Linked DNA regions of Homo sapiens: regions 2, 3 and 4 are each linked to region 1. Evidence: promoter capture Hi-C in human tissues and cell types (Jung and others, 2019). All regions are on one chromosome and are shown on one strand. The core of a region is centred on a gene start or on the middle of the fragment in contact, and the rest is flanking DNA. Distances in the headings are between cores, read along the strand shown.

The links. Contacts are between HindIII fragments. The study calls those that stand out against the background at their distance.
Region 2: a contact is called between a fragment that was not itself captured here and the fragment with the promoter of NBL1 in region 1, in 2 of the 25 tissues and cell types used here (adrenal gland and heart right ventricle).
Region 3: a contact is called between a fragment that was not itself captured here and the fragment with the promoter of NBL1 in region 1, in 1 of the 25 tissues and cell types used here (IMR-90 fibroblasts).
Region 4: a contact is called between a fragment that was not itself captured here and the fragment with the promoter of NBL1 in region 1, in 1 of the 25 tissues and cell types used here (dorsolateral prefrontal cortex).

Annotation. Positions count from the first base shown.
Region 1 is chr1:19,638,943-19,645,606 of GRCh38, reverse strand. NBL1 (NBL1, DAN family BMP antagonist) reads right to left here and starts at 1,296. Exons shown (of 4, transcript NM_005380.8): 1 at 1,161-1,296. All of the region lies in intron 1 of MICOS10-NBL1 (MICOS10-NBL1 readthrough), which reads right to left. RefSeq lists a silencer at 1,211-1,550 and an enhancer at 1,449-2,284. The HindIII fragment of the contact is 7,978 bases long and covers 317-6,664 here.
Region 2 is chr1:19,138,961-19,145,624 of GRCh38, reverse strand. UBR4 (ubiquitin protein ligase E3 component n-recognin 4) reads left to right here. Exons shown (of 106, transcript NM_020765.3): 54 at 718-839; 55 at 1,534-1,645; 56 at 3,848-3,978; 57 at 4,101-4,278; 58 at 4,733-4,837; 59 at 6,405-6,542. Among named protein-coding and RNA genes, the nearest start is that of UBR4, 68 kb to the left of the region's middle. RefSeq lists an enhancer at 5,503-6,252. The HindIII fragment of the contact is 3,798 bases long and covers 1-3,149 here.
Region 3 is chr1:19,184,851-19,191,514 of GRCh38, reverse strand. UBR4 (ubiquitin protein ligase E3 component n-recognin 4) reads left to right here. Exons shown (of 106, transcript NM_020765.3): 12 at 3,975-4,074; 13 at 4,214-4,351; 14 at 4,858-4,975; 15 at 6,229-6,416. Among named protein-coding and RNA genes, the nearest start is that of UBR4, 22 kb to the left of the region's middle. The HindIII fragment of the contact is 7,277 bases long and covers 1-6,664 here.
Region 4 is chr1:19,360,752-19,367,415 of GRCh38, reverse strand. All of the region lies in intron 4 of CAPZB (capping actin protein of muscle Z-line subunit beta), which reads left to right. Among named protein-coding and RNA genes, the nearest start is that of SLC66A1, 52 kb to the right of the region's middle. The HindIII fragment of the contact is 6,424 bases long and covers 1-5,960 here.

The DNA of each region.
Region 1 (6,664 bases), core at 47-2,546:
GTAACAAAGGGTGAGGGGCTCCTTGTTGACAAATTGCTTCCCCGCCAGCGCCCGGTCTTTGGCCTCCAGCCCTGACCTCTGTTTTCCTGGGGTGCCCCTAGTTACAGGCTGGTGGCGTCCAGCTTGGGGAGCGAGGGCCTCCGAAAGCCTGGAAGTGTGGCTTTCTCCCTTGATGCCCGCCAACCTCCGGCCACGCCAAGGCAGGCGGCTGCCCCCTTTGCCGCCGCTTGTAAACGATCAGAATCGCCCCGCCCTGGGAGCGGGCCGGGCAGGTGGCCCGCAGCAGGGCCTGTCGTCCAGCCGGCCTCGCGGGGGTGGAATTCTTAAGAAAACTGAGCCCCCGGAAAGGCTGGCTCTCCCTGCCCCAGACTCAATTCCAGGGAGATGACCCGGGCCAGGCCTCGGGGCCGGCGGGAGGCAGGGGGAGGGTTTGCCGCACCCGGTCTAGGAAACTATTCGTGAACCCCGCTGGGGGAAGGCGAGCCTCCGACACTGGGGGATTGTCTGGATCGGAGGGCGGGGGATCAGGGAGAGGCGCAGACACAGGGCGAGACCCCCACAGAGGGCAGCGCAGAGACAGAGAGAGGGAGAGAAAAGCCAGAGGCAGAGACACAAACGCGGGCAGCCGAACACGGAGGCAGGCGGGGAACGGAAAGAGACGGGCAGACCAGGGGAAAGTGAGCGGCGGAAACGGAGCGACGGAGAGACAGACACACGGACGTGGGGACCGAAGCAGAGGGGGCCGCGGGAGGCGGAAACGTCCAGAGCCGAGAGGCGCGGCGCGGCGAGGCCCGGGCACGGCCGGGGGACATGCGAGCCCGGCCCGCCCGGCCACGCATCTCCCTCCCTCGCTCCCTCTCTCCCCCGGCCGCGGAAACTCCGATCCAGAAACGGAACCCTGGGGCGAGTCTGGGGACGGGCTCCGGACGCGGCGGTGCCCCCCGGCCACCCCGTGCCGCGCCCACGTCCCCAGCGCCGGCGTCCGGAGGCGCCCGCCAGGTCCCCCAGGGCTCCTGAGCTCGGCGGCGGCGCCTCCACCCGGTGCCCGCGGCCGCCGGACGCGCCGGGGGACGCAGCTCCGGGCTGGGGGCGCGGCACTGCCCCCGCGGCCGAAGCCTCTGGAAGCCGGGCGCCCGCGTGCCGACCCGGGCGGGACTTACCGCGCGCGCCCGCCGGTCCTGCGGAGCTGGGTGCGGGGGTCGCGGGCCCGGGCGCCCCAGGAGGCTCGGCGAGGCGGCCGGCAGGGCGGGGGGCGGCCCCGCGACGCTCGGCTGGGCTGCGCTGCGCGCTGTCTGCGGCCCCGGGCGGGCGCGCGGCGCGGGGGAGCGGCTCCGACGTCAGGGTGGCTCCCTCCAAACAGGGCGCGAGGGCGGGGGCAGCGGGGAGGGCCGCGCGCAGAAAGAGCGGGCGGGCGCGCGCGGCCTCTCCCTCCGGGTGCGCAGGAGGGGGCGCCGCGGCGGCAGGGGCCCCGGGCCCTCTCCTGGCCCGCCCGCCCCGGGCTGAGCTTCGGCGCGCTCCGACGGCGTGGTGGGGCGGCCGGGACGCCTGGCCGGCGCCCGAGAGGCAGGGCAGCCCAGCCGGGCGCCCTGGCCCGTTCTTAAGCGCCCTCCCCGGGTTTCTCTGCGCTTCCACTCTCTCCGCCCGACTTTTACCGAGCCTGGGCCGTCAGGCCGTGCCAGGCCTCGGGGTGACAAAGATGGATGTGTCCTTTTTGTGGGCACCGGGCATTGCAGACTTGCCCCGAGAGTGGGGCGCCCCAGCCCGCCGCGTCCCGGCACCAGGAGTCCCCAGTTCTGCGGTGCACCTCATCCCGTCCGCTCCGGCATGCGACCCGGTTCAAGTCCGTGCTGTTGGTAGCCTGGGTTGCTCAGCCTTGCCTAGTGTTATCCTAGTGTCGCTCTCGGCCCCACGCCCTTGGCTTAAGCATCCCGAAAAGCCCCAGGGACTTATTAGGAACTAAAAAGCCAGCAAATGAACTCACTTCTCTGACTCCTGGGAAGAGTGGAGCTCCTGGCCCCAGCTTCCAGCCTCACCTCGGGGGTTCCTATCTAATCAGTGGGCACTTGGGTGGATTGCGGCCGTACCTTCTCTATTCTGTGTGCTTAACAACGGGGTGAGAAAATAACTTTGCTTCTGGAAAGTGGTGGCCCAGGGACACCACTGGGACACGATTGTAGGACTTGGGGATTTTGCTTTACAGCATAGTTACCTGTGTCCATGTGTTTTACCTAGCTTGGCTGGAAACTTCCAGATAGACACAGCCCTGCTTGTCTGACTCATGAGGTTGCCGGGCATCCTGGGTGGCTCCTAGTGGCCTGCTGGGAACTCCCTGGTGTACTCCAGCCTACTCGCACCCTCCACACCCAGCCTGCATCTGCGCCTCCTAGCTGTTGCCTGCGCCCTTCCCTCTGCCCGGAATTCCCTTCCCCTCCTTTCATCTCTGGCAAACATTCTTCCAGCTCCAGATTGGAAAGCCTTCCCAAGACCCTTTGGGAGCATCTCCCTCCTCCAGTGTGATCCTGGAGCACAGGATGAGAACTTCTGTTCATGTCAATTTCCCTCTAGAATAACTGTGTACATCTCTTGGGCAAACATTCTTCCAGCTCCAGATTGGAAAGCCTTCCCAAGACCCTCTGGGAGCATCTCCCTCCTCCAGTGTGATCCTGGAGCACAGGATGAGAACTTCTGTTCATGTCAATTTCCCTCTAGAATAGCTGTGTACATCTCTTTCCTCCATTAGACCTTGAGGGCAGGAATCGTGTTTATTTCAGTGTCTCCATTGCTTATGGGCAGGCCAGGTGAGATGTACAATGTATTTGGTTGAATGAAGTTGTTGTTGTTGTTGTTGTTGTTGTTATTATTATTATTATTAGAGACAGAATTTTGCTCTTGTTGCCCTGGCTGAAATGCAATGGCGTGATCTCGGCTCACTGCAACCTCTGCCTCCCAGGTTCCAGCAATTCTCAGCCTCCCGAGTAGCTGGGATTACAGACGCCCACCACCACGCCCAGCTAGTTTTTGTATTTTTAGTAGAGATGGGGTTTTGCCATGTTGCCCAGGCTGGTCTCCAACTCCTGGCCTCAAGTGATCCTCCCGCCTCAGCCTCCCAAAGTGTTGGGATTATAGGCATGAACCACCACGCCCAGCGAATAAAGTAATTATTATCCCCCATTAATGTAGCACAGATAGGTCTTCCCTTAATGGTAACTATGACCGTTATAATAGTTCACACATATTGAGCACCTTACCATGTGCCTCATCCCATTGCAAGCTGTTGCCACTCTCACAATAAACCTATGAGGTAAGTATTGTCTCTGTTTTAAAAGTGCCAGGCGCAGTGGCTCATGCTTGTAATCCCAGCACTTTGGGAGGCCAAGGCAGGAGGATCACTTGAGGTCAGGAGTTCGAGACCAGCCTGGCCAATATGGCGAAACCCTCTCTCTACTAAAAATACAAAAATCAGCCAGGTGTGGTGGCGTGTGCCTGTAGTCCCAGCTACTCGGGAGGCTGAGGCAGGAGAATCACTTGAACCTGAGAGGCGGAGGTTGCAGTGAGCCGAGATCGCACCACTGCACTCCAGCCTGGGAGGCAGAGTGAGACTCCATCTCAAATAAATAAATAAATAAACAAACAAACAAATAAAATAATAAAAGTGAAAAAAATCCCGAGGCTGGAGGATCACTTGATCCCAGGAGTTTGAGGCTGCAGTGAGCTATGATTGTGCCACTGTACTCCAGCCTGGACAACATTGCAGAAGGCTAATTGTGGAACCTAATGAGCTTGTCACTCCAGCAAGGCCTTGTCTCAAAAAAAAAAAAAAAAAGTGAAAAAAGGAACGTCAAGAGAAAGGTTAAGTAACTCGCCTAAAGTCACACAGTAAGAGCCCATGCCAGCTAGTGTCTGTTGGATAACTATATACCATGTACGGCAGAAACCAGCCTCACTGCACTGTACACAGTAGACACTCAGGAAATATTTACCATTTTGCAGCCAAAGCTTACCCCCGCCATCTTTCATGCAGACCCCGAGCAGGGTAGAAAGTAGAGTTCTACATTTTGTAAGAATCCACTCCCACATTGCAGAAAGCTAATTGTGGAGCCTGATGAGCTGGTCAGATCACACATAGAGCCAGGAGTAGAAGCCACAACTTCCAGCCAGTGCCCTTGACAGGGCAGCCCACCATCTCTCAAACACCGGGAGGTTCAAGAACAACACCAACCCCCTAATCAGGGACAAAGGGTTTGGAGTTGAGTCACCATCTGTCTGGTGACGGGAAAGCTACAGTGTGGGCAGGGGGCCTGGGAAGTAACTTGGTAGTAATATCTACCCATTTTGTGCCAGGCATTATGCTGGTCACTCTGTCTGCTTCATCTCCTCTAATCCTTACCACAGTCCCATCATTGTTCCCATTTTACAGGTAAGAAAAATCGAGGCACCAAAATGTGTCATTACCTGCTCAAGACCACATTGCTAGTGATTAACAAAGCCTGGACTTGAGCCCAGACCTGTCAACACCAAAGTCCATGCTTCCTTGCCCACCACACCCTCTCCACCCTCTCGGCTGCCTCAGTGCTCCTCCCCATCAGGCTGCAGCAGGGATGCTGCACTGAAGATGGACCCCAGGGGCCCCAGCGGGAAAGGCAGAACCTGTCACGTCAGAGTGTCCCAGCTCGAGCAGATGCACCTGGTTGGCAGTGGTGTTCCAGCTGCCCCTACAGGCCTGGCTGGCACAGGGCATGGGCCTGAGGCCAGAGCCTCCTGGCCCTGGGCCAGCCTCTTGGGGCCGAGGTAATGTGGGGCCCAGAGCTGGGGCTCAGGGCTAAAAGCCCCTCTCCCCAGCTCATTAGCAAACATCTGGGCTCAGGAAAATGACCGACCTGGAATGTGACTGAGCTGTGGGGAGCTGCTCTCTCCCAGAGTCCGGGAATGTGAGCTCCCTCCTGCAGGGCACGGACTCAGCCCAGCTGTTTCCTCTAATCCTGTCAGTCTGGCCTCAACGGGGGTCCAAACCTCTGCACTCTCGCTGGAGAAATAGAATGAAAACAAGCAAAAGGCCTGTCTTCCCAGTCCAGCCCACTGAACAGAGGGTTGGTACACAGTCCCTCTCTTTTTATGATAAAGATGAGAGCGTTCACACCTCCAGGTATGGAGCTGGGAGGAGCCATTCGGACTCATCAGGGGAGGCTCAGGGTTTACATTGTTCCTGCATCGCCCTCTGACTCTGTGCTAGTTGTTTCACACCTGGGCCTTGGTTTCCTTATCTGTAAAATGCAGTTAGTAGTGCTATGTACTCCATAGATTTGTTGTCTGGAGTCATTCATTTATCCAACAAATACTTATTGTGCCTGTTATGTGCCAGACATGCACAGAGGTGTTGAGGACACAACAACAGACTAGACCAATAAGGTCCCAGCCTCCAAGGAGCTTATGTTCTGCCACACCCAGGCAGATTGTGCAACAGATAAACAGATGAGTGGATCTCACATAACCAATGTGTTCTGAAGGTTCCAGGTTCAGTTGTTTAATATTTATTTAAAAGAGCCAGGCGTGATGGCTCACGCCTGCAATCCCAGCACTTTAGGAGGCCGAGTTGGGTGGATCATTTGAGGTCAGGAGTTCAAGACCAGCCTGGCCAACATGGTGAAACCCCGTCTCTAATAAAAAGACAAAAATTAGCCCGGTGTGGTGGTACGTGCCTGTAATCCCAGCTATTTGGGAGGCTAAGGCAGGATAATTGCTTGAACCTGGGAGGCGGAGGTTGCAGTGAACCGAGATCATGCCAGAGCACTCCAGCCTGGGTGATGGAGTGAGATTCTGTCTCGAAAAATAATCATCATAATAATATTTATTTAAAAGAAAAAAAGGAGAGGCCAGGCGTGGTGGCTCATGCCTGTAATCTCAGCACTTTGGGAGGCTGAGGCAGGTGGATCACCTGAGGTCAGGAGTTCAAGACCAGCCTGGCCAACACGGTGAAACCCCATCTCTACCAAAAATACAAAATTAGCTGGGTGTGGTGGTGCGTGCCTGTAATCCCAGCTACCTGGGAGGCAGAGGTTGCAGCGAGCTGAGATCGCACCATTGCACTCCAGCCTGGGTGACAGAGCGAGACTCTGTCTCCAGAAAAAAAAAAAGAAAAAAAGGAGAAAAAGTATTATGAACGAACTAAGCCAGAGGGGGCGATGTGATGGGGGAGGTATGAACTCACTGAGAAGCCTCAGAAAACGTCGCAAAGAGGTGACACTTAAGGTGAGATTATAATGAGATGGAGCAAGGATTCAAGGAGATAAATGGATGCAAAGCTCTCGGCACAGTTCCTGGAAAATAGCACGTGCTCCATAAAATGAAAGCTATTTCAGGGAGGTTTCATATATATAGCTCAGGAAAGGTGCTGGAGTCAGATGCCCTGGATCAAATCCAGGATTCAGCACAAAGCTTTCTCACCTTACTCCAGTAATGCATCTCTTGAGCCTCAGTTTCCTCATCTGGAAAACAGGAATTGTAATAGGACCCATCCCCAGGATCACCCAGAATTCACTGAGAGACGTGAATGTGAGGCACAGAGCCGGCACACGCTTGGCTCTCAGGAAGTGGTAGTTACTATGGTGGGTTGTTTGTTTGTCTGAGGTGGACTCTCGCTCTGTCACCCAGGTTGGAGTGCAGTGGC
Region 2 (6,664 bases), core at 1-2,500, 500 kb after region 1:
GGAATTTAGCAGTGTGGCAGAGTGGGATTTTCTTCTACCATATCTTTTCATCGGGGTTGAATATTTTACATAAAGAGGCACTGTGTGTGTGTGTGTGTGTGTGTGTGTGTGTGTGTCTCAGTGGTTTATAATTGTTTTTAAAAATCTTTGACAACTTGGCTTAAAGCCAGCTCAAAAGGCACAAGTATCTTGAGGATTATTCTATTTCTAAGCTATTTGGTCTCTAACTTCTTACACTATTGAAAATTCAGATGGAAGAGTAAAGGGTCTGAATAGCAATATAGAAAAGTAGGATGATCCTGGTGCTCATTCATGTTTGGAGGACATTTGGGTGGTAAACCTAAAAGGCAAGTCAAGGTCATGTTTTGTCATCACCTGAGGTTGGGGGATATTAGGGAACATTTAGTATCTGCCTTCCTCTTCATATTTCCTTGCCTTGTCTTTTGATATCCAGAGAGAGTGGACAGCTACTTATTTCTGTGACTCAAGATATCTGGAAAGACTTTTGAGGACAATTTGGGAGTTTAGGAAACTGTTAATGAAACAAATCATAAATAATACAGGCTACTGTGTGTGAATGAGTGTGTATGTGAGTGTTTGTCATTTTGTTTGCATGACCTTTTACATGGAGATAAAAGGTTACACTTTTGTCTCAGACTCTCAAGTAGTTAGAGTTTTTTCCTCCAGATTTTCAAATAATGTTTGTCTCTCCTTTAGGACTAACTCATATTGAAGCTACTGTCAATGCTCTGGTGGACATCATCCATGGCTACTGTACCTGTGAGCTGGATTGTATTAACACAGCATCCAAGATCTACATGCAGATGCTCTTGTGTCCTGTACGTAGCATTACAATCCCAGAGAGCTCGCAGCAGCCAGGGAATATCTGGAAAATTGTTTTTAGCTTGCTAAGCTAATGAAATAAAATATATTTAGAGGAAGCTGAAGGGAATGAAGTTTCAAATATCAATAAAAGCTTTAAGATCTTACTCCATGGAAGAGAAAGATTTGGAAAGGGGATGGGCTCAGTCTTTCTTATTCAGTGCTGAATCACCAGGGACAGCCTACTGCTTGCTACATAGTAAGTGCTAGGTAACTCGGTGAATTGTGACTTAAATGAGCACATGAATGAAAGTAGTACATCAAGATTTCTATTTCCAGTGACCCTTTCACAGAAGCTAAGTGTTAAAACTACTGATTTTAGCACAGAGCTAAGACGTGCGCTGGGGGCTTGATCATCTGATAAAAAGCCAGAACCATTTGTAAGGGGCCAAAATGGCCTCAGGAGCAAATGACCTGCCAGTCCATCCCCAGGAACTGAGAGACAGGAGGTTAGCGAATGGCTCTTAATGTGTGCCAGAACAGGAAGCGGGGATTAACTTAACCTGCTGAACTTGGTCCGCTGGGTTGCAGGTGAGAGTAGAGAGGTATTCCACTTGCATGTGAGTGAGTGACCAAGAAAGGAAAGTGTTTTATAGAGAGTTTCATGAATAATATGAGAGCAAAGCGTGACAGTTTCCTTTTAAACCTCAGGATCCTGCTGTGAGCTTCTCTTGTAAACAAGCTCTAATTCGAGTCCTAAGGCCCAGGAACAAACGGAGACATGTGACTTTACCCTCTTCCCCTCGAAGCAACACTCCAATGGGTAATATGAGGTCTGGGTTTAGGCTCAAGCCTGTATTTGGGAGGAGGGGAGAGAGGGAGGTACAGTAGCATTGGGCATGCTGCTCATGTTGACCAAGGTCCTGGAGACTTTATGTATCTGTCTTTTTTCTAATCCTACCTCACCCCATAAAGAATTTAGGTGGCACATCAAAATGTATATAGTAAGTAGGATAAAAATAAAGATTAAAGGCCATGGGAAAATAAAAGTACCATAGTAAAATCAAAATACAGAAAATTCACATCACAAAGGTCCTGCATGGTTGGTAAGCGAGGGTCTTATATTTGGCTGAAAGCTTCCTAAGAGCCATAGCAAAAATAAAATCACAGTGACCAAAGACAAAACAGAAACATAACTTTTCTTGGGATAGAAGCTCTTCATTAAATGTCCATTTTGTTGCCAAAGGGGCAGAATCCTTAGTGGACTTACCTACAATAAGTTGGATAGCAAATTTCACAGGAATTTCCCTCACAATACACAGTACACAATACACAATACACAATACAGTCAAGGGCATAACATTTTACGATTCAGTAAAAGCAATTCTAAAAGGTGTCTGAATAACAGAATTATATAATTCTGGTTACTTGGCTTGATTTAGAAGTAAATTTCAAATGAAAGTCACTATGTACTTTTAAATTTTCTTTCTTTCTTTCTTTCTTTCTTTCTTTCTTTCTTTCTTTCTTTCTTTCTTTCTTTCTTCCTTCCTTCCTTCCTTCCTTCCTGCCTTCCTTCCTTCCTTCCTTTCTTTCCTTCCTTCCTTCCTTCCTTTCTTTCTTTTTTCTTCCTTCCTTCCTTTCCTTTCCCTTCCTTCTTTCTTTTCTTTTCTTTTTTTCTTTTCTCTTTCTTTCTTTCTCTCTCTCTCTCGTCTTTTTTCAGAGTCTCACTGTGTCACCAAGGCTAGAGTGCAATGGTGCCATCTCAGCTCACTGCAATCTCTGCCTCCCTAGTAGCTGGGATTATAGGCGCGTGCCACCGTGCCCAGCTAATTTTTGTATTTTTAGTAGAGACAGGGTTTCACCATGTTGGCCAAGCTGGTCTCGAACTCCTGACCTCAAATGATCCGCCCGCCTCGGCCTCCCAAAGTGCTAGGATTATAGGCGCGAGCCACTGCTCGGCCTGTACTTTTAAATTTTCTAATAGCAATATTATAAAGAGTAAAAAGTAAAATTGATTTACTAATTATTTAATCCAGTATATCAAATATTATATCTACATCTTGTCAATATAAAAAATTTATTAGTGAAATATTTTGCCTGTTTTGGTACCATTTTGGGAATCCAGAATGTATTTTACACTAGTGGCACATCTCCTTTTAGACAGCCATGTTTTAAGTGCTCAGTAGTCACATGTGGCTGGTGGACAGTGCACATCTAGAGGATTGTACACAACTTTGTGACTTTCAGAAAATCTTCCTTGCATATCATTTATCTTGCCTAAGCTTTTGGGTTAGGCAGCAGTTTGTGGCTCTTTTCCCTAGCAAGAACCTAGAGTGGAGATAGTTTATGTTTCTAACGGACATATTTACAAGCTTTAGCAATCCATCGAGTGGAAGGTGAGGTCTCTATCCTCTTCTGACAATTAGGAGTCTCACCTGGACATCTTCCTTATTAGAAGGCCTTCTCACCTTCACACAAAAGTGGGCACAGGCAGGACCTGCAGTGGTGTCCTTGGTTTCCAGTCAATGGTTTTACACTTCAATTCTGGTTCTTCTCATAGTAATTACGTAGTGTGAAAATCTCACTGACCTAGTTGTTTTAGAAAAAAATAGTGAAATAAATTCTAATCTGCCATGACAGACAAAAGGTAAAGATCCCAATCATATGATTTTTCCTGTCTTATCCAAGGTCTCCTGAGAGTTAGCGTGAGTTTGGGAGGCCTACTGGTTTTAGATCTCTCACCTTTATGGAAATCCCTTTGGAATCCAAGTTTGTTTCCTTCACCAGCTGGAACATTTTATTTTTGTGGGGGGCAAGCTGTCGCAGCCAACTCCATCTTCCCAGATGCTGTAGGTCCAAGAAGTAAGAGAACAAGGCCAGGCATAGCACCCCGGAGTTCTCCCGCTAAAGCCCAGGGTGCTAGCTGGTAGCTTGTCTTGGGTTTTTGTTGCCACCTGACTTATGGCACCATGTGCCAAGGGAGGAAAGCAAGCACCTTCAGGTGACTGGGGTTTCTTTGACTCAGGAGACAAGGATGATGATGACGATGATGATGCAGATGAGAAAATGCAGTCATCAGGGATCCCGAATGGTGGTCACATCCGTCAGGAAAGCCAGGAACAGAGTGAGGTGGACCATGGAGATTTTGAGATGGTGGTGAGTCTCTGGCAGCAGGAGAAGGGGAGGAGGAGCTTCACAACTCTCCTCTAGCTCTTATTCAGTGGACTTCCAAAAGTTACCACTTACCATGGGACACTGACAGAGCTTTCTCTCTGCAGTCTGAGTCGATGGTCCTGGAGACAGCTGAAAATGTCAACAATGGCAACCCCTCTCCCCTGGAGGCCCTGCTGGCAGGCGCAGAGGGCTTCCCCCCCATGCTGGACATCCCACCTGATGCAGATGACGAGACCATGGTTGAACTAGCCATTGCCCTGAGCCTGCAGCAGGACCAACAAGGTAGAAGGCCATGCCAAGAACAAAGCGGCCCATTGGCCTTGCACAGGAAAAGAGGGTTTGGCAGTTACTGATATCCAGCTGACTTAGTTTGTCCCCAGATATGGGGAGAGGTTGATCTGGGTGAGAGCTGTTCAGAGATACAGGTGGAGAGTGAGAGGGATGTGGTGGGAATTTCAGTCTGAGTGCCAATCTCATAGTTTCTGCCAGTTTGGGTTATTTCCTCTTGAATCTTAGATTCCTCCAGCCTGTGTCCTGCCTGAGCTGAAGGAAGCATTCCACCATCTCTGTAACTGAACTTGGTGGGTGGACAGCAGTGGCTGCTAGCTAACTTCCTCTAGGCCAGAGGGGGTCACATGCTGGTGTTTGGAGACTCTTGAGGGCAGCAGGTGGCCAAAGCAGCGCTGTGGATGGGACCTGGAGGGGATGTTGTGCTCACTCTCCACTTGTTTCCCAGGCAGCAGCAGCAGTGCCCTGGGCCTGCAGAGCCTGGGACTGTCCGGCCAGGCACCCAGCTCTTCCTCTCTGGACGCAGGAACCCTCTCTGACACCACAGCATCAGGTAACTGTCCACAGCAAGGAGCACGGCTCAGGGCCCCAGGACCCTCAGGCCTTGTTTCCACTGCTGTGAGAGTGTAATGGGCAGCTGCTTTGACAGGCCATTCTGGACTTCCTGCTTCTGCCTTGGCTTTAGAAAGATGGGTGTGGAGGGTGTAGTGCTGTGGCTCGGCCCCGCCGCGCACAGCTCCGCTTCCTCACACTTTGCATGCTGCCTGGCTTCAGCTACTTCCCCACGGAAAAGCCGAGAGAGCGGCATGCAGGCTGATCAGCTACAGGGCTTCCACTTCAGCTTCCAGCGTTCTTTGTCAGAGTTCTAACATTTTAGACAGTATTAAAAGAGAGACAAGAAATAGAACTCATACCTTTTACCTTTTTTATCTTCATTTGCAAATAAAAGGAGAGCTATAAGAAGCTAGATTATACTTCAGAATTCTTGTTCAGTGTGACCAACCATCAGGATCTGTGAGCTTGAGAGAGAGGGTTTTTATGGACAATTAAAATCTATAGCAAATCTCCAGAACTCATCTTCTCTTTATTTTCAATCTTTTCCCTAATCTGATTAAAAAAAAAAAAATGTTTCCTGAATAGAGAGTTGGACCAAATGGAGATACCTGGTCAACCCCTGAGTAATTTAAGGGTTGATTTATAGTTTTTTAGACTGATGCTTCCTTGTGTTTGTTTTTTTTCTTTTCTTTTGGAAGTTTTAGCCTGGGTAGTTAAGAAAGGGAGAGAGCGGCTGGCCCCACCTGCTGCCATGGCTTGTTGCTTTTCTTAGGTCTCTTTAGTTGCTGTCATTTCAGGCTCTGAGGTTGCTGTTGTGTTGTGCCAGTCGTGTTCCCGCTGTGCTCTGTGGCTGTCTTGGCTTTCCTCCCCCATGTATCTCATCCAGCATTTTCCTCCTGTCTCAGCTCAGCCCTGATCCTGGATGCTGTGGCTGTCTCTGGGGAATTTCCTTGCTTCATTATTAGCATCTGATGAGGATGATTAGGAGGTGTGAAATTTCCCAATGAGCTCCCCTCTGGACCACTTGCTAAAAAAACCAAAACAGGGTTGATTCAAGAGCTCATGCTAAGTGATTTCCTAACATAAGCAAAACTTGACTGATTTCAAAACAAGTCTCATTAAAATTCAGAGTTCTATGCTTTGAATGGTAATGGCTAGTTTCAGATCTCTCAGCAGGTGTCAGTAACACCTAAACAATGGTGACCATGAAGCATTTTAGCTAGAAAACTCAGCGTCCATGTCACAGATTCTTACTGAATCTCTGCACTGTTCTACTTGCACTGTAATGTAAAACAGTGAAGGAAATACCCAGTGAACTGGGTTTTCTTCACTCCTGTCTAAGTACTGTTTGCAATGCACCGTGTATAGTGTTTGTTCCTGTTAGTGATTAACCAGCAAAGCAAATCTCTCCCTTTTTTCTTTGACGACAGGATATATAAACTGCATTGTGTCCTATGCACTATGTGGTTTGATGCTTTCATCCCAAGGAGGGGTTTTTTTTGTTTTTTGTTTGTTTGTTTGTTTGTTTGTTTTTTAACCTGTAACAGCTCTCGTTACTCTCTCAGCTCCAGCCTCAGACGACGAGGGCAGTACAGCAGCGACAGATGGTTCTACCCTTCGGACCTCTCCTGCTGACCACGGTGGTAGTGTGGGCTCGGAGAGCGGGGGCAGTGCAGTGGACTCAGTGGCTGGCGAGCACAGTGGTAATGTGCCATGGCGGGGGTCCTGTCTCCTTGGGCAGAGGGTGGGGACAAAACAGGAATCTCTGCTTGGGTCTTGGGGTTGGTTTTTGCAAAGAAAAGGTATAGAGACTCATTGAAAGTCT
Region 3 (6,664 bases), core at 1,907-4,406, 460 kb after region 1:
AGGGGCCGGAGAGTCATAGGGGCTTTTATTATTTTATTTTTTTTGAGACATAGTCTCCCTCTGTTGCCCATGCTGGAGTGCAGTGGCGTGATTGTGGCTCACTGTAACCTCCACTTCGCGGGTTCAAGCAATTCTCATGCCTCAGCCTCCCAAGTAGCTGGGATTACAGGTGAATGCCACCACACCCAGCTAATTTTTGTATTTTTAGTAGAGACGGGGTTTCACCATGTTGGCCAGGCAGGGTCTCGAACTCTTGGCCTCAAATGATCTGCCCACCTCAGCCTCCTAGAGTGCTGGGATTACAGGTGTGAGCCACTGCGCCCAGCCCAGGGCTATTATTTTAGTTATTTAGTTATTTAGGATGATCCAGAAAGGGCTCCAAAGACATGATGTAGAGACCATATGTGAAGTGACAGAGCTATGTAAGTATTTGGGGTAGAATTGTTCAGGTTTGAGATGGAAGTATCATTGACATTTCTGAGGGTCAGCAAGGTCAGTGTGGCTAAAATGGAGAAACCAAGGTGGGAGAGTGGTAGAAAATTAGGTCAGACAGGTAGCCAGTGGCCAGATCACCTAGGGCCAAGTGCAGTCAGTAACTGTTAGAAGGATTAAACAAGGGAGAGATGCAACCTGATTTATTGGTGATCTGAGGATAGACTGCAGGGCATAAGATAAGAAGGAGGGAGAACAGTTAGCAGCGAATGCATCATTCCAGATGAGATATGAAGGTGACTTGGATAGGGTGGTGCGGCAAAGGCTGAGAAAAGAGGCCGAATTGAAATATATTTGGAAGGTACAGCTGGCAGGATTTACTGATGGCTTGTATGTTGGGTGTGAAAAAGATGACATCACAATTTTTTGGCTTGAGGTCACTGGGTTGTATAATTTACTGATACTGGGAACACTTGTTTAGGAGTGGGTTGAATGGGAAGATGGGGAAGAAATAAAAACGTAATATTGGCCATGCTGAGTGTAAGATGACTGTCAGACCTCTATGTGAGATGTTGAGTGGGCAGTTGGATATGTGAGTCTGGAGTTTCAGGAAGAGGTCACAGCCTGGACTGCATTAACAAATTACCCTCTGAGCATCTTCTGTGTCCCAGGCTCTGTGTTAGTTCTGGATTGCTGTGATGAACATAAAAATGGACATATTCTCAAGAGACATGAACTAGGTATCCATACAAATATATATATATATATATTTTTTTTTTTTTTTTTTTTTGAGGCAGAGTCTCGCTCTGTTGCCCAGGCTGGAGTGTAGTGGTGCAGTCTCAACTCACTGCAACCTCTGCCTCCCAGGTTCAAGCAATTCTTGTGCCTCAGCCACCAGGTAGCTAGGATTACAGGTGTGTACCACCATGCCCAGCTGATTTTTTTTTTTTGTATTTTTAATAGAGTTGGGGTTTCGCCATGTTGGCTAGGCTGGTATTGAACTCCTGGCCTCAAGTGATCTGCCTGCCTCAGCATCCCAAAGTGCTGGGATTACAGGCATGAGCCAATCTGCCTGGCCATGTCAAATTGTATCTAGAGAGTATTAGAACAGGGGCATTTGACCTGGCTAGGGACATCAGAGCAGGCTTCCCCAAGGAATTGCTAATTAAGCTGAAATCTGAAGCCGGTATTGACATGGTAAGTTGATAGATACTAGGCGAAGTAAGGAGGTAAGAGTGTTCCAGAGCAAACGGTAGTTTGTGATTTTATGAGTGGCCATTTTCATTCTTGGCATTGTAAAGGGAAATGAAAGAATGCCAAGAAGTATATCCTTAGAAGTAGCAGTTATGCTTTTAAAATGGCTGTTGTTTCTTCATATTTTAAAAGAATACATGTATGTTGTATAAGTGACAAGCCATACAGATGGACATAAATAGGAAAGGTAAAAATGATCCCAAATTCTACCACTCAAATTGGTAAACATTCCTTCAGACATTTTTCTGTGCACATATAAAATATATATAAGTTTACAAAAATGGGATCAGTGTATATGAAATACTGCATCATCTTTTCAGTGACACTATTAAAATGTCTAAGTTTTTAATGGCCAGCAGTATTCCACTATGTAAATATACCGTAGTTGCCTAATTCCCCTATTGCTAAGCGCTTATTTAGATTGTTCCAAATGTCTTGTTTTGATAACTTCCTGAAATATAAACTTTTGGGAACTTAATTGTCCTGTTGGGATGAATTCCCAAAAGTACCGTTGTTAGGACAAAGGGCTCACATATTTAAACATTGGAAATGTTTTGTCAAACTACTCGTTAGAAAAGTAACACTAATCTGCATTGACACCAGCTGTGTGCTTATATGCCCATTTCCCCATGCTCTCTTTGACAATGGGCATCATTAGTCTTCATGTTTGCTTGTCTTAGAGGAGAGAATGCTATGATATTTCATGTATTTGTATTTCTTTGATTACTAATGTGATTGTATTTCCTTTCACCTATTTATTGGTCATTTGTATTTCTTTTGTAAACTGCCTTATGTCCTTTGCCTTGGTTTTCTTTTTGGTATTTGTCATTTTCTTTTTAATTTTTTTATTATTATTTTTACAGAGGTAGAGTCACTTTGTCTCCTAGGCTAGAGTGCAATGGTAGGATTATAGCTCACTGTAACCTTGAACTCCTGGGCTCTGGTGATCCTCCCACCTCAGCCTCCTGAGTAGCTAGGACTACAGGTGTGCACCACCATGCCCAGCTAATTTTTAAAATTTTTTGCAGAGATGGGATCTTGCTGTGTTGACCAGGCTGGTCTTGCACTCTTGGCCCCAAGCAATCCTCCTGCCTTGGCCTCCCAAAGTGCTGGGATAATAGATGTGAGCCACCGCATCTGGCCTGTGTTTGTTCTTTTTTCTTTTTGATTTATATGAACTTGCAAATCATATATATTAACCTTTTGTTATGTGGAGATTTTGGACAGGAGGAAAACACTTTACTTGAATGTAATTTTCTTTTCTCTCTTTTGTTTTAAACAAAACCTCACTCTATCGCCCAGGTTGGAGTGCAGTAGTATGAACACAGTTCACTGCAGCCTCCACCTCCTGGGCTCAAGTGATCCTTCTGCCCCGGCCTGTTGGGTAGCTGGCACCACAGGTGTGCCTCACCACTTCTGGCTAAGTTTTTCATATTTTGTAGAGATGGGGTCTTGCCATGTTGCCCAGGTTGGTCTTGAACTTCTGGGCTCAAGTGATCTTCCCACCTTGGCCTCCCCAAGTGCTGGGATTATAGGCATGAGCCACTGCTCCAGGCCTCTCTTTTTATTCTCTTAGATTTGTTTCCAGATATTTTATAGAAGTTGGTAATTCAAACCTTTTTCTTTTCAAAATAATGATTCTTTAAAAGTTCAATCTACATTTAAAAGTCAGCATCTTTGTATAACCCATTAGCCTTGAACTGATTGTTTAAATTCCAAAAATTTTTCCATTTGGGAGTTTCTTCTATTCCAGGAGGTTTTATTTATTTATTTATTTATTTATTTATTTATTTATTTAATTTTTTGTTTTGAGACAAGGTCTTGTTCTGTCACCCAGGCTGGAGTGCAGTGGTGCACCTCAGCCTCCCAAGTAGCTGGTACCATAGGTACATGCCACCATGCCTGGGTAACTTTTTAATTTTTTTGTAGAGACAGGGTCTCCCTCTCTAGGTTGCCAAGCTGGTCTAAAATTGCTGGGCATAAGTGATCCTCTCATCTCGGCCTCTCAAAAGTGTTGGGATTTAAGGTGTGAGCCACCGTGCCCAGCCTAGTCCAGGAGTTCTAAACCTGAAGCCTGCAGATCCTTAGGCCATCTGTGGATGGGGTTCAAGGAGATTGTGAACTTCAGAAATTATATGCAGATGTATGTATGTACAATTTTTTTTTTCTGAAGGTCCACAGAGTCTGAAAGGGGTCTGAAACCCCAAAATGGCAAGATCCACTGCTTCAGAAGTTGTAATTTATTGTTAATTATTTTAAGGATTGTGTTTTCCTTTTTCTTTGTGTAGGCATCAGGGATTTGGGGTACTCTCAGTAATATTGGCAAACCATGCCATCAAACTGCTAACGTCTCTCTTTCAAGACCTACAAGTGGAGGCCCTTCACAAGGTGAGGAGGTTATCCCCATGGTAATCAGCATATTGATTGCGGGATCCACTTCTGGCCAAGCAAGCTTGATCCATCAACTCAAGTTGTTTTTTCTGGCTGAGTAGTATCATTAATTGCCCTTTGATATCATTGCCTTCAGGGTTGGGAGACAGATGGCCCCCCTGCAGCCTTGAGCATTATGGCCCAGAGCACCTCCATACAGAGGATTCAACGGCTGATTGACTCTGTCCCACTGATGAACCTGCTCTTGACGTTACTTTCAACTTCCTACAGAAAGGTGGGTGGGAGTTAAGCCATTGATAATTTAGAAGAATGTCTCATTTTATATATATGATATATATATGTATATATATATATATATATAAAACTTTCTTGAAATGAATAAGACTGACTACACACCATGACCTTTATAGACCCAAAGTTTTGGTACTGGTGTTGAAGAAGTGAAAAATTCTTAGCGGGTTGAATCTATCCAAACATTTGAATCAGTTATTAATTATCAGTTTTGTGATACACGTGGCTACTTGGTGATTTGTGATGATTGGCATACTGAAGCAGAAGCATAGAGGACACTATGGAAACACTCCTGTTTTCAATTCTTGTCCACGTCTCTGGTTGGTAGTGTTTTTGTAGGGTAAAGTGATGAAAGTCCTTAATTAAGGGAGCTATTAAGAGGCATACTCTTGGATTTAGGAAAAAATAAAAGAGATTATGGAGAAAGTTTTCATGCGATGCATGAGATTAAATAGGATGGCTCCGGTTTTGTAATTGTCATTTTCCTAGGCATGTGTCCTGCAGCGGCAGAGGAAGGGCTCCATGAGCAGCGATGCCAGCGCCTCCACCGACTCCAATACTTACTATGAGGACGATTTCAGTAGCACGGAGGAGGACAGCAGCCAAGGTAGAGGCCGCTCTTTTCTCTCTCCCAGAGATAAGCTATAGAGTGCAACAGGAGTGTTCTCAGCAGATTCCTGTAGTTTCCTGACCAAACAAAAGTTTCCATTTTGTTTTCACCTGCTTAGCCTGGACCTTGGTTTTATGTGCATTCAAAGATGACATGTTATTTAAGAGCAAGTTGAGCTGTTGATGAATGAATGATGGAAACAACTTTCAGCCAAGCCTGGGTTACTTTTCATTCCTTTCCCTCCAAAATCAGAAAACATCTCAATTGTTCCATATTTCTTCCTGTGTTGACTCATTTTGTGACCTCTGCTCTAAGCTTTCTCAGTGAAACTCAAAAGGTCACATGTGAGGTGTTCGGTTTGGATGTTATCATAGTCATAGTTTAGGGAAGCTTGAGTAGAGAAACCTAATCCTGTTGTAGTGAACCCACTGGCATGCCCTCCTGCCTTAGTTTGATGAGAGAATGAATAAGGTAAGTACCTCAGATTCTTTCATAATCAGGTTTGTGGGAACAATGTGAAATACGAAGGGAGGTGTGATTCTTACCGTCCTGTGATTTATGGTTGATAAGGCAAGTATAAATTCGCTCTTGAAAATATTTGGCTTGTTACCAGTAAAATAATGTGAAGTTGTTTTTCTTTCTTTGTTGGGCTCCTTAAAGAAAAATTGGCTGGGCGCGGTGGCTCACACCTGTAATCCCAGCACTTTGGGAGGCTGAGGTGGGCAGATCACAAGGTCAGGAGTTCGAGACCAGCCTGGCCAATATGGTGAAACCCCATCTCTACTAAAAATCAAAAATTAGCCAGGCACATGCCTGTAGCCTGTAGTCCCAGCTACTCGGGAGACTGAGGCAGGAGAATCGCTTGAACCTGGGAGGTGGAGGTTGCGGCGAGCCAATATTGCACCACTGCACTCCAGCCTGGGTGACAGAGCGAGACTCCCTCTCAAAAAAAAAAAAAAAAAAGAAAAAAGAAATCAGTTTTATTGGGGTATAATTTACATGCAATAATGTGAGAAATTCTTAACGGGTTGAATCTATCCAAACATTTGAATCAGTTATTGATGATCAGTTTTGCTCTTATTTTATGTATGCATTTAGATGAGTTTTGATACACAAATGCAATCTTGTAACCATCATCACAATTGGGATATCCTTGTATTCCTTTTGACTTAAGTACTTTTAGGAAGCAGATGCACCAAAAACACTTTTAAAAAATATTTATTTTCGTTACTTTATCTTTCTCTATTCAGACGATGACAGTGAGCCTATTTTGGGGCAATGGTTTGAGGAGACTATTTCTCCCAGTAAAGAGAAAGCAGCACCTCCGCCTCCTCCCCCACCTCCTCCACTGGAAAGCTCTCCTCGGGTTAAAAGCCCCAGTAAGCAGGCCCCTGGTGAGAAGGGCAACATTCTGGCGAGTCGCAAAGATCCTGAGTTGGTAAGAGTAGGTTTCTAAGGTTTAGGGGAAGTGGACATGGGGAGCTAGGGGTATGAGAAGCAGATAATTTGAATGCAAACATTTTGTGGCTTGGATAACTGTAATGTTTAAAGATATTTTTGCTTAGGACTTATATGTCTTGATTATGTGTCATTAAATAACTTACGTGACTGTTACTGTTTCTCTGCTGGCCTTTAGAATCACTTAATGGCTTTGTGACTTTGGGCAAGAATCTGAATTTTTTCTAG
Region 4 (6,664 bases), core at 1,499-3,998, 280 kb after region 1:
CAGCTCACAACACGTCGAGGTTGCCTTCTCCTCCCCTCTGTTCAGAAAGTAAGAGCCTGATGAAAACCAGCAGCCACCACTTGTTGAGTGCTTGCTCTGCCAGGTGCCATGGCAAGTGCTTGCCCGTTCATTTTTTTCTTGTGATCTTCCTTATATCTCCTCATGCTTGTTTGCCAGATGCATCTTGAGTGCAGGCTGGTATAACCAGTGTAAGGAAGAGAACCCACACTCTCCAGCCCCTCGTGTGCCGTCTGCAGCTCTCTGGACTTTGCAACATTGTGCCCACTGGGCAGCACCCACGCCCATCCATTGGACAGGGGATGCGCTCAGCTTCTTTTTGAAGTTGGCTAGATGGCAGCCAGCAGAGCAAAAAGGAACGTTGGTCTACACCACGAGGAAGGGAGCCAGGTTTTGGATGCCCCTCTGAGCAGAATGGACAGTTTTCTCTTTTTCCTGAGGTGGAGTTGGATTGTTCCCACCTGTGAAGACCAGGTGCCTGTTTTGTTGTAAGGATGTTAAGGATGATCAGAAAAACAAACTACTGCTGATAGCTGGGGATTTTAGTTTCTTTTTTACCCTAGGAGGGAACAAAAAGGCATTGTTTTAGGGCCAGAACCTCAGCTGCCGGGGAATGGCTCTGCCTCTGGGTTTTATTCTCTTCCTCTTTGCCATAAAATCAGTCATGGAGCTTGGGAGTTTCTGTTTGTTTGTTGTTGTTGTTTCTTTTGAGATGGAGTCTCGCTCTTTTTGCTCAGGCTGGAGTGCAGTGGCGCCATCTCAAGGCACTATAACCTCTGCCTCCCGGGTTCAAGCAATTCTCCTGTCTCAGCCTCCTGAGTAACTGGGATTACAAGCACCTGCCACCATGCCTGGCTAATTTTTGTATTTTTAGTAGAAATGGGATTCACCATGCTGGCCAGGCTGGTTTCGAACTCCTGACCTCAGGTGATCTGCCGGCCTCGGCTTCCCAAAGTGCCGGGATTATAGGCATGAGCCACCGCACCCGGCCAGGAGTTTGTTTGAACTCATGCCTGTATGACCTTGTCTTTGTCATGACCAAGCACCAGTACAGCAAAAAGTGTCCCTCATGACCATTTATTTTATTTATATATATATATATATATATATATATTTTAAGACACGGTCTCACTATGTTGCCCAGGCTGGTCTTGAACTCCTGGAGTCAAGTGATCCCCCCACCTTGGCCTCCCAAAGTGCTGGGATTATAGGCGTGAGCCACCATGCCTGACCTAAGACCACTTATTTGTCCCAAGTCTTGCTGCTACTCCTTGGTGAGATCCCAGAAGCAGAACACACCATACATGTGACGGGAGAACATAGGGTAGGAGAAGAAAGACTCGTGGAATCTTACATGTTGGAGCTGTTTGAGGGCCCAGGTTCCTAGCTTAGCACCAGATCATAGAGGAATTCTGCTTTTTTCAGTTACATCAACACTTCAAATTTTTTAGCCTGAGCTCTTCAGCCGGCATTCCAGCCAGCCCCACCTCCTGTGTTCCCTTCTACTTCTGCCTCATCAAGGCTGTGGGCGTTTCCATCTTTTCTTTTTCTTTTTTTCTTTTTGAGACGGAGTTTCACTCTTGTTACTCAGGCTGGAGTGCAATGGCATGATCTCGGCTCACCGCAACCTCTGCCTCCCGGGTTCAAGCGATTCTCCTGCCTCAGCCTCCCAAGTCGCTGGGATTACAGGCATGCACCACCACGCCCGACTAATTTTGTGTGTTTTTTTAATAGAGACGGGGCTTCTCCATGTGGGTCAGGCTGGTCTCGAACTCCTGACCTCAGGTGATCTGCCCGTCTCGGCCTCCCTAAATGCTGGGATTACAGGCGTGAGCCACCATGCCCGGCCTGGTTTCCATCTTTATACTGACTCCAACATGAAAAAAGTGCCCAGACCAGAGCCCTCCTTCCTGGTGGACCATCAGTTTCTCCACAGAAGCCTTCACTAGGGCTGCCCGTGCTCTTTCTGGAAATCCACGCGATCTGGAACTCAGTGACATCCTCATTTGCACAGTCTCCTGCTTTCACGTATATTCCTGTGCATAAAGACTTCGGGGGAAGAGTGGCTTGGATAGAATACAGATCACAACAGCTTCGGGATCCCAAAAGAGACGTTGAAATGTTGAAGCCATGTCTACGAGAGTGATCTGTCACAGATTTGAGTGGAAAGTGATATTCTTGGGTCCAGTCTACCAAGTTCTCAAGTCCAGGATGTGAGAGGTATTTTCATGGCAACACATAAGAAAAAATATTCAGCTGTACACGGTGACTTATGCCTATAATCCCAGCACTTTGGGAGGCCGAGGTGGGAAGATTACTTGAGCCCAGGAGTTCAAGACCTGCCTGAGCATAGCGAGACCCTGTCTCTACAAAAAAATTTAAAATTACCCAGGTGTGGTGGCATGCACCTGTAGTCCCAGCTACTCAGGAGGCTGAGGTGGGAGGATCACTTGAGCCCAGAATGTCGAGGCTGCAATGAGCCATGGTCATGCCATTGCACTCCAACCTGGGCAAGAGAACGAGACCCTGTCTCAAAAAAAGAGAGAAAAAAAAAAAGAAAAAATACTCCATTTGAGATGACTGCAAGTTCAGTATGTGTAGCATGGATTAGGTGTGATTGCTAATGAAAGCTAATTTGGTCTTGAGTGCTGGAGGGAGGAGTAGCCTGTTTGCCAAGAGATGTGCTGGTCCCTGCTATGCATTGGTTAACACTTAGTTGGGGCATTGTTTTCTGTTCTTTTATGAAGGACATTGACAAGCTGGAGTATGTTCAGAAGGATAAACAAGGTATTGAGTCGTATGAGGAATTACAAGGAGGAGAAGGCCAGAAAAGAGAAATCTTGGTGTAAGCCAGTTTTAAATGTTTGAAAGGACTATGCAAGGAAAGGGCATGAAGTCCTTGTTTTTTTGTGATTCTGGAAGGCAGTAGTGAGAAGTCTTCACTCAAGTCCAGAGAGAACTGTCTCAGTTGTTCAGAACAGAAATGTTTGCCTCAGGAATGTAATGAGTTCACTGTCACTGGAGGTGTGTAAGCAGCAGTTTGACAGAGACTAAGATGTTAGGAACCTGCCCTGTGGTGCTCAGTCTGCCTCATACAGGCCCTGATGCAACCACCAAATCCTGGAATGTCAGAACTGGGAGGACCCTCTACGCTGGCCTCTGATCCAGCTCTTTGATTTTACAAATAAGAAAAAAGTCTTTTGCACTGTGTTGGTGCCAAATATTGCCTTTCCCTTGGCTTTATTCAGTGAAGTTGACTGCAAGAGAAAGCCCTGTTCCAGCACCTATGGAGCTCACCTTAATAATGCCCCTAACTTGGCTGCTGCCTGTGCCTCAGCGTCACAGGTATCTCAGGCCAGAGGTCCAAGTCCTGTGAGTGTGGCCCAGCCCACTAATAGCCAGAAGGACATGTCTCAGTGAACCCTAGAACCACAGAGTCTGTTTCTTGGCTCATGCTGGAAAGCCCTGCTCCCAGCAGGTCTGTCCTGGCCTTGGTTCTTGTGGCATGTGGCATGTACTCATTATCTGTTGGGAGCCTTTGTATTCGAGCCACGAATCCAGCTCTTCTCCCAGGAGGTGATGTGAAAGGAAGGAGTAAAGAGCAGCTTCAAAGCCCCTTCTTCCCCTCCCGTTTTCCCTGTTAGATTTGCAGCCCCGTGTTGGCCAGGCCTGGGAATTGGGTCATTCATAGTTACAGCTCAGATTCCCCGAGCACGTTTCCACCCCACGCACACCTCAGCTTCAGACACTCCATAAAGCTTTTGGAGCTGAAACATTTTCTTTTCTTTTTACTTTTGTGAATTAGGTCATTTTGAGTGTGAAGTATTATGTTTTCCCTTTTTTCTCCTTCCCCCCAGAAGTCCTGTGGTTGAAAAGTTACGGACATAGAATCTATATCCGTGACTATGACATTATTCAACTGGAAGAGTGATTTTCAGGGAGAAACGACCTAAAACTCTGAGAAGAAGAGAATTACTGACACATTAGGCTTTTAGCTGATCCACGTTTAGGGACCAAGGTGACGATAGACAAAAACCCAACCAGATGTTTAATTGTAATTGGCTGTGCTGATAAACGGCTTGAGACCAGCCTGGGCAACATAGCAAGACCCTGTCTCTAAAAAAAAAAAAAAAAAAATTTTTTTTTTAATTAGCCATGCATGGTGGTGCATGCCTGTGGTCCCAGCTGCTTGGGAGGCTGGGGAAGGAGGATCACTTGAACCCAGGAAGTCGAGGCTGCAGTGAGCGGTGATCGCACCACCACACTCCAGCCTGGGCATCAAAGCAAGACCCTGTCTCAAAAAACAAAACAAGATGTTAATCTGTGTTAGGAAAGTCTTAAAAGGCGCCGGGACCGTTGGTAAAACTGATGGCACTCAGTTGAAAGAGTTAGCTCTTCAGTGGACGCAAGCAAACAGGTGACTCCAGCACTTTGCTCCCAGTCATTCCCAAGTTGGTCTGTCATTTCACCCCCTCCTCATCTTCCTGGAGCTTCTGAGGCCCCCCCACTTCATGGTTCAACACTTGTCCAAGTTGACTTCTCTGCAGTCTTTGCAAGCTAGTCCCTGTGTTGTCCTGGCCACTGGGGAGCTCTGATTTGAGCATGTCATTCAGCCTCTTGACTGTGGGGATTGATTTCAGCCCTGTGCTGCCCGTGCTGTCTGGCTTTCCATTTAGGAAAGAAGCCTAGGAAAAGCTCATGCATTTCTCTTTGGGCCTCCACGGTTTTTTTTTTCTTTCTTTTTTCTTTTTTTTATAGAGGCTGGCCTCGAACTCCTGGGCTCAAGCAGTCCTCCCACCTCAGCCTCCCAAAGTGCTAGGATTACAGGTGTGAGCCACTGCGCCTGGTCCTAGGCCTGCATGTTTAAAAGAGGTTCTTGACCAGACGTGGTGGCTCACGCCTGTAATCCCAACACTGAGTGGAGACCGAGGCCAGGAGTTAGAGACCAGCCTGGGCAACATGGTGAGACCCAGTCTCTACTAAAAATACAATAATTATCCAGGCATGTTGGCAGACCCCTGGAATCCCAGCTACTTGGGAAGCTGAAGCAGGAGAATCACTTGAACCCGGGAAGTGGAGGTCGCAGTGAGCTGAGGTCATGCCACTGCACTCCAGCCTGGGCGACAGAGCGAGACTCTGTCTCAAAAAAATAAAATAAAGCACTCCAGCCTGGGCGACAGAGAGACTCTGTCTCAAAAAAATATAATAAAAATTTCCCCCTTCTACCTCCTTGACCAGAGACCTCACTGCAGGGACTCTCTGGGATTTTCCTCTTGAGCCCAAATCAGCTGAGCTGTGGTAGTGAGTCCTGGGCCCATTCCTCCCTCCCTGCAGAGTTGGGAGATTTTGAAATTATCAGGCATGGGCAGGGGCCAGGGCAGGGCGGATTAATTCCTCTGCAGCCTGCTCTCAGCGCTTGGCCACATTTGATCATTCACTCACATGGAAGTACAAGGCCTGAGAGTGAGTCGCTGGCGATGGTAGAGCCACCTTATTGAAATAGCATGTTAGCATTTAAACAATATTAATACTATTTGACTCATTAAATATACAAAGACCAGTTAAACTGCTTCCATGTATGTGCTGTTAATTCTGGCGGGCGACTCCTCAGATGGCTTTATGTGGTTTCAGACAACGTTTTAGCACATTCTTAAAATACCCACAAAAGCCTTTATGTAAAAACTCATAAATGCAAACCACATAAAAATTATTTTTTCCTTGTTTCATATCATTATGATCAAAGTACAGTAGGTAAGAAATAAATTTTCAAAAACGTGTTGTGGTCCCCCTTTAATTAATGCTTCACGCGCAGAGCAAAGCCATAAACCATGTAGCGGGGGCGCTGTCTGTGCGCCCTGCAGTCACCTCCCTCCTGAAGGTGCCGGAGCGCCCTGATGGCACTCGCAGGAGAGGCTGGTGCTTCTGGGCAATTCTGAAACAGGCCTTTCTAACCATGCAGTCCTCTGCTCCCTTTGTCTCGGAATGTCAGGTTGAGACTTGTGGCTGCTCCAGTCCCTGGAGATCCCTTTTGGTGAATGGAATGCAAGTCCATTCTTGAATTATTGTAGTGTTTGAGCTGTACCTGCAGAGGCCAGGTCTCAGCACGTCTGACTCACCTCAGTTGGAACACCCCGATTCAGAGAGGGAACAGATTCGAAGTGAGAGATTGACCACGCCGCCTCTAACTCTGTCGCCGTTGTTTCTTTATTAAAAGTCAGATTGATGGTAAATTAGGATACTACCCGACTGAATACTATCCTTGCTGTTAAAAATGATTATGGAGATCATGCGGCTCCATGGAAAAATGCTAATGATTCTGTGCCAAGTGTAAAAAGCCAAATTCAGCATGGTACTCTTGCTGTGCTTACAGTTATATAAAAGTCATGCATCTGGACTGGAAGGGAATTTGGAAAAATCAGATTTATGGGATAAGTTGATTTATGGCATTGTGGGCTAATTTTCAGATTTCCTTTTTTAAAAAACAATAATGTTCCTGCAGTAAGTTTTAAAATTGTGGGTAAAAGAATAGTAACCCCACAAGGAGTGACAATTGAGCTTGCATTTTTACCTCCCCTGGCTCCAGCATTTGAAACTTTAGACCTGGTCACCGTGGCCCGCCAAGGAGAAGCTGCCCGTAGTGGGAGCC